Linked DNA regions of Homo sapiens: region 2 is linked to region 1. Evidence: promoter capture Hi-C in 16 types of primary human blood cells and fetal thymus (Javierre and others, 2016). All regions are on one chromosome and are shown on one strand. Each heading gives the region's core, a stretch centred on a gene start or on the middle of the fragment in contact. The rest is flanking DNA. Distances are from core to core; before and after follow the strand shown. Region 1 holds the start of CDX2 (caudal type homeobox 2). Region 2 has its middle 77 kb from the start of MTIF3.

Evidence for each region. The method cuts DNA at HindIII sites, captures the fragments that hold promoters and counts their contacts. A CHiCAGO score of 5 or more calls a contact.
Region 2: a fragment that was not itself captured here is called in contact with the fragment with the promoter of CDX2 in region 1 in 1 of 17 cell types (M1 macrophages); the score reaches 5.3 in M1 macrophages.

The regions. Positions count from the first base shown.
Region 1 is chr13:27,967,502-27,971,027 of GRCh38, forward strand. CDX2 (caudal type homeobox 2) reads right to left here and starts at 1,814. Exons shown (of 3, transcript NM_001265.6): 1 at 965-1,814. The coding sequence starts at 1,505. RefSeq lists an enhancer at 1,049-1,740. The HindIII fragment of the contact is 4,126 bases long and covers 170-3,526 here.
Region 2 is chr13:27,525,556-27,529,081 of GRCh38, forward strand. No RefSeq gene overlaps it. Among named protein-coding and RNA genes, the nearest start is that of MTIF3, 77 kb to the left of the region's middle. RefSeq lists an enhancer at 1-70. The HindIII fragment of the contact is 1,945 bases long and covers 959-2,903 here.

The DNA of each region.
Region 1 (3,526 bases), core at 564-3,063:
GGGGCACTCAACTAGGACTCTCCCCACCGCACTTCCTTGCCACCTCTAGGCACACTCGAACACCAGAAGGGGCAGACCCAGAGTCAATGAGCCCCACAGTCCGGCAAACCTAGGATCTTTTTCAGTTGCACACACACACTCACAGACATCCCTGACACCCTTGAAAGGAAGCTTTGGGAGAAATGACCCCTACCTGGAGCGGCGGCTTAATTCCCACCAGGGTTTCCTCCCCGTCTCCCTGCTCTCTCCGCAGACGCCTGCCCCTAGGCTTCTTGCCCCTAGCCTTCCAGCTTTTGCTTGAAATGACCCCTTCACAGGTCAGAGGTTCAGAGACGGGGCGCGCCCCCGTCGCCTTAGCAGCTGGGGCTAGCACCTTCTTCCCAGCGACAGCAGCTCTCCCTGGTCTGCCTGCTCGCTGTACCTTGAATTGGCCCGAGTGGCCAAACCCGGTCCCACACACAGCCTAGCCATCCTCCGACCCCCCCAGGTCACTTCTCTTCTTAGATGGCTCAGATGGGGAAAGAGAGAGCGGAGATAAATGGCCTAGACCTAGCCCAAGAAGGTTCGAGCCTCCCTCTCTCCTCGGCGGCCAGGAGCCACGCAAGGAATGCATGCCGCAGCAAGTGCCGGAGGACGCGATTCTGCCGGCGTCCAGCAGTGCTCACGCCGACATTCCCCGGAGCTTCCCGAAGGTGTCCCGGGGTTGCGAATGAGGAGCTCTTGGAAAGAGGACGCCTGAACACGGTGTTGAGACTCAGAATATTCACTCCCAGGCTCAGTAGGTCAGAGAAGCCCCGACGGGCCAGAGGCCCCCGAATTTGTCTCCGGGCCGTGCCCCTCCTGGCGCCGAGCTCCCAGACAGCCCGGGACGCCCCTGTGCGCACTGGACGCGCGACGCGCAGCAGCCACTGGCTCGACCCGCGCCTTCCCAAGCACCCTCCGAAGGGGCGCAGCCTCTGCTTACCTTGGCTGCCGAGGGACTGCTGCGCCGGCTTCCGCATCCACTCGCACAGGTTCCGCCGCTGGCCGCCGGGAGACAGCTGCTCGGCGGCAGCGGTGGCGGCGGGCCCAGGAGGGCCGGGGTTGAGCGTTTGCAGCAGCCCAGAAGCGCAGGAAGGCGCGGCGGCCGGGTGGTGCGGGTGGTGATGCGGGTGGTGGTGCGGATGGTAGTCTGCGGGGCTGCTGTAGCCCATGGCTGCGGCCGGGGAGCCACCGTTGAGGCCGTGAGCCACGGCGTTGGCGGCGGCCGCGGCGCCTCCGGGCGCGTAGCCATTCCAGTCCTCCCGGAGTGGGGCGCCATACGCTGCCGGCCAGGATGGCCCCGGGGACTGCGCGCTGTCCAAGTTCGCTGCCGCTGCAGCTGCGGCCGCCACGTGGTAACCGCCGTAGTCCGGGTACTGCGGGGGGCTGACGAAGTTCTGCGGCGCCAGGTTGAGGCCGCCAGAGTGGCGCACGGAGCTAGGGTACATGCTCACGTCCTTGTCCAGGAGGTAGCTCACGTACATGGTGGCGAGGGTCCGGGAGCAGACCTCACCATGCTGCCTGGGGACCGACGCTGGAGGCTGCCGGGGGGCACGAAGGGAAAGGGGCGAGGGGACTCGAGGAGCGGCGGGTGGCTGCGCCCCAGCCCGCGGTGCTCCGCTGGCTCCTCGCGGCTCTTCTGCCTCCGAGGCGGTCCCTCCCTCTGGCCTGCCTCCTCCCTCCCTCCCTTTCTTCCTTCTTTCCTCCCACCTCCTTCCCACTAGGCTGCAGAGGCGGGGAAGACCCGCCACAGGCTGGCGTGCGGAGCCCCAGGCCGGCGGCCTTCCGTGATTAACGAGTGTTTACAAGACTCTATTAGTAATGACACAGACACCAATGGTTGGAGACGTCGAGGCGCAGCGCGCACTCTACGCACAACCCCTCGAAACATAATTTGCATTTTAAAAGATAAAGGGGAGGGAGGCTCGTGAGAGGGCAGCGACCTGACACAGCTAAATATTCAAACCTTTATTGTTAAGAGCTTCCTCCTTCCAACCTGGTGCACTTTAACCTCCAATCACAGGTTCAAAGAATGAAATCAAGAGACTTACAAAAGAGAGGGGAAGAGAAAAGGCTATCTTGGTAGGAATCTGAGCTTGGAGACAGGAGCAGTGGTTGTTTATGCATTTGCAGGGAAGAGGGCGGTCAAGAAACTCCTTCTGTCCCAAAGAGAAAAGAAAAGAGAACCATTGCTTTGATGAGAACGTTTCTGACCAACCTGGTAGGTGACAAGCAGAGAGCCCTAAGAGATGGGCCATTCCTTCCCGCCCTGTGCTCCTGGCCCGGACGACTGCAGCCCCAAACAACTGTCACCTCCAGTTATTTTCTTGCCCAAGGAAATTACTCGCCCTCCGCACAAGACAAATTATGATCCTAGATTCAGGCTGCATCTCTGACTTCATCTTACATTTGAAATTTGAGTTAAATTCAAGCGATTTATTGTTAAACGTTTACATTCAAGAATCAGAAGTTTTAAACTACAGAAGTAATGGGCATGTGGTAGAAGTTAGGCTAGTGGTTATTGGCGTGCATAACTGGAGGCGAGCTAGGGGATCGTTGGTAAAGCAGTTTCTTAGGCTGCTGGTTACACAGAATGTCAGTTTGTGAAAATTCATTGAGCTACACTTGTATGTTTATTATACTTAAATATAAGGAAAAGAGAATTTCTGCTAATGCTTACCTAGGTATTTATGTGTCTTACATCATACCTGTATCTTTAAAACTCTCTGTCCTTTACAAAGGGAAACGTTCTCCGAAGAAATTTATTTCTCATTTCCAGGAGATGATAAGGCAACTCAGGGCCATTATTAACGACTGCTAATGAAAAGCTCTGAGTTGAGAAAGGATCTCTCTTGGTTTGGGAAGCGCTGCGGCCAAGGGGCCTAGGGCTGGAAGTGGCCGTCTTGGGGACCGAAGCCGCGCAGCCCGGGATCGGGAGCTGCCCCGACAGGAGCGCGGAGGCGGCGAGATTCGGCCCCCGCGCGCGCCCAGCTCGGTTTCAGCAACCGCGTGGAGTGGGCCTGCGGCCGCCGTTCACCTCCTAATACAAGCCTTTGACAGCGCTGCCAGATTCGGGAATGAGGATCACTGCGGCGAGGCCCGGCGGGCTGGGCAGCCTGACTCGGCGGCTTTGAGCGCTCTCAGAACCCGCGGGCGCTCGCGGCACTCCTGGAGACCTGCACTTGTCTGTTCTCATTGTCAAGCGTTTCGCTCGGATATTTGTCACCATCGCCTTCATCCTGTCATTTCTAGGGTGCTCTCCAGTGTCCTTTATCTCCCTTGAGCCTCACATCCCCCTAGGATCTAGAACAAAATCTGGGAGGTGTTTTTATCCTCCCCATTTTACAGGTGACAACCAGCAACTTGCCTCTGCAGACACCTGAAAGCGATCAGAACTAGCCTAGGGCTGCGGGATCCCCTGTTTTCTGGTTCCTCCCACCCTTCGTGTTTGTAAGGAAGAAGGCTGGAAATGGGGGTGGTGGGGTACTCAGGGGCCAAGGAGCTG
Region 2 (3,526 bases), core at 681-3,180, 440 kb before region 1:
TTCAGTGAGATCCTTGTAAATCCATCCTGCTCTGTGGCTGACAGGGGTTAGTGAGGCATTTTTTCTTGTCTCTGGTACTCCATGCAAATGCTCACTGCTCTCTTGATTTTGTAACAGGAGCTCCAAGCTCCTGTCTGGCTCAAGTTTCCAGGGATGATCCCTGAAGCAGGAGCCCATTCTCTAACTGCAGGTGGGCATCCTCACCCTGCACAGATGGGGGTGTCATGTGGAGATCGTGGGTATCCCCTCCTGGGCGCACTCCATCTCTTGAAGCCTCATGCCAAAACCCCTCCACTCCTGGGTACCATCTGTTTGCCTTCTATTTTTATTCCTTTGGTTTTTGTCTTCCTAATTGTCCCAACCTGACTAGCTCAAGGATGCTAGAACTACATTCTCACCATTGCCAGAAGAATAGACAAACAGAAGCCTGAGTTTTACCTAAAGGTAGAATGACAGTCTCTACTTGTATATTTGTCTCTTTTTCTAGGATGGGTTAGACAGAGCCCCATTTGCTTCTGTGCCCCTGGCTCCTGATGGGCATGGGTCCTGACACTCATTCATTGGGAGCTCTAAAGCTGTCGGCTTGGAGTTTGCCAGGTGCCATCATCTGACTCCTTGACAGGCTGCTGCAGGCTGCCTGGGTGCAGAGCAGTGCCCCTGGCCTTCCGCAGGATGCAGCTGTATCATTGCTGCAGGATTCTCTTCCACACAACATATGGGCAGAGAACAAGCACAGAGAACAATGAAAATAACTCCTTACATCTATTTGCACACTTCTTTCTAGTTTACAAAGTATGTTCACATTCGTTATCTCCTTTGAGTTTATGTTTCCTCTGTCACTTTGTCAGGTTGGAAAGGCTATCATTATCCCTTGGTACAGAGGAAGACACTGAGGTTCAGAGGTGAGATGCTTTGCCCAAAGCCCACAGCTAATAGGAGTGAACCCAGAATTGGATCAAGCTTTCTCTTGATTCCAATTCCGATGCTCTTCTTCCTTTCCCAGTGGGAAACCCACATTCCCTTAGGTCAGATCAGCCTCTCCCTTGGTGTTTAAGCCCAAATACTCTCATTTCCTCCTTCTCCAAGACAGGAAATCCTAGTGGGAGGTGTCTGGGTCATGGGGGTGAACCCCTCATGAATGGCTTTCTGTCATTCTGAAAGAAGTGAGTGAGTTTTGATCTCGTGAGACTGGGTTAGTTATCACAGGAATGGATTCGTTCTCACAAGAGTGTGTTGTTATAAAACCAGGAGGCCCCTTGGTTTTTCCTCTTTGCATTTATCATTTCTCCTTTGACCTTCTGCCATGTTGTGACACAGCATGAAAGCCCTCACCAGACACTGAGCAGATGCTGGTGCCCTGCTTCTTGAACTTTTCAGCCTGCAGAACCGTGAGCTAAATAAACCTCTTCTTTTTATAAATTACCCAGTCTCAGGTACTCTGTCATGGCAACAGAAAATGGACAAAGACAGTAGGAAACAGGGCTATTCAGGGTCAAATTTGCCTCCAAACACTCTCTTCTCAGATCTACCTCATGCTAGGTCCATCTGGATGCCTTTCTCAGGGTTCCCTTCTGAGCAGCAGCAATACTTACAAGGCTACCTCTTAGGGCAGAATAGGGGATGGAGGCACCCAGATCATCTCGAAGTAGGTAATGAGGAATTGTGGCTGAGCTCCGTGAGCACACACCAATGCTGGGAGGATGCCACATGTGCCAACCTGGGAAAAAGCTGATGATGCTCAGGCTCAAAGAGGTTAAGTGACGTGTCCAAACTCACACAGGTAGCTTGTGGCATGGCCAGGATTCAAACCCGAGAGTGGCTGGATCTGAAATTCCACTCTACAGGCTATAGGCAGGAGTGCCAGGAGGTGAGGTGCCCAGCCCCAAAGGAACCAGGAATCAGGGCTCCAGGCCTGAGAAGAAGTGTCTTCTCTGAAGAAAGGGCATGCATTTGGTCTCCTCTCCTTTTGTTTGTGGTCATCTTAAATGAGATTTCCTTCCCCCTTGGCCTCACCACCCACTTTCTTACACACTGGCCTCCTGTGTGGGAAGGTGGAGCTAGCATTAGATCTAGAGGCTGGAGCCTGGATCCTGGTTCTGGTTCAGCCCAGCTGGTTCAGCCCAGCTCCGGGGAAGTCATTTAACTTATCTGAAGTCTGGTTTCCTCACCTGAAAACCAGGGGGTTGAGCAGGTGATCCCCTGCTGAGATGTTCTCACCTGCAGCATTCCAGGACTCTGACATTTCCGTGATCCACAACCCTCTCCTCTTCTCATACCCTCCACCTGCCTGCCTCTGCCACCCTTGTGGGGGTACAGATGACCTGGCACAAGGCACTGTCACTATCAGCCAAGGCCGGCTAAGGAAGACAATGCCAGCCAGCTAGTGCCGAGACATCCCATTCTGAGGAATGCTGGCACAGTGAGGTGCTCTGTAGAATGCAGCTATTTTCTTCTTCCTAAAATGATCCCCAGTAGCTGTGCCTTGGGCTGCCAGAAGTGCTCTGCAGGAGATAACTTGGTCCTATATGCTCTTCACTCTTGTTTTGCATGACTTTAAGCAGTAAGTGCCCCCCGACACTCCTTTTCTTCAATGTTCCCCACTAGAAACTCCCTGATATAGTTTGCATATTTGTCCCCTCCAAATCTCATGTTGAAATGTAATTCCCAATGTTGGAGGTGGGGCCTTGTGGGAGGTGTTTGGATCATGGGGGTGGCTCATGAGGAGGCCCTCATGAATGGCTTGGGCCATCCCCTTGGTGATAAGTAAGTCCTTGTTCGAGTTCACAAGAGATTTGACCATTTGGAAGTGTGTGGCAACTCCCGCCACTCTCCCACTCTGGTGCTTGCTCCTGCTTTTGCCCTGGGAAGTGCTTGCTCTTCCTTTGCCTTCTGCCATGATTGGAAGCTTCCTGAGGCCTCCCCAGAAGCCAGGCAGATGCCAGCACCATGCTTCCTGTAAAGCCTGCAGAACTGTGAGCCAATTAAACCTCTTTTCTTTATAAATTACCCAGTCTTAGGTATTTCTTTAGAGCAATGCGAGAACGGCCTAATACACCCCTCCACCCACCCAAAGGAGCCCTGCAGATGTGATGGAAAGGCATGGCCCTGACACCTTCTCCTTAGTCCTAAGTCACCAGCCAGAATCTCAGTGTTGGAGGTCACTTCCTCCAACCTCGCTCCCATGCAAGAAGAGTCTCTCCGGATGCCCACCTGGCTTCTCCATGGAGCCTTCTGGAGACACTGGCCTCGTGCCAGAGTGCCTGGAATTGTTGCGACCTGTCTTGGCATTGTGACCCCGTCTGCCTTCCCACAATTCTCAACACGAGCACCCACTCAGCCTTCTGCAGTGATGCAGGAAGTGTCAGCTCTCTTCTGCAGGATGGCCTAGAAGCTTATGAAGACAGCCGATGTGTGCCTTGGGCCACTGCATGGTCAACGTCTACAGTTTCCTGTTACAGCTCAGATGATGAGGTTTCCACAGCTACCTTCGGGACATGATCCAGATTCCCACGTCCACCTCTAGGAG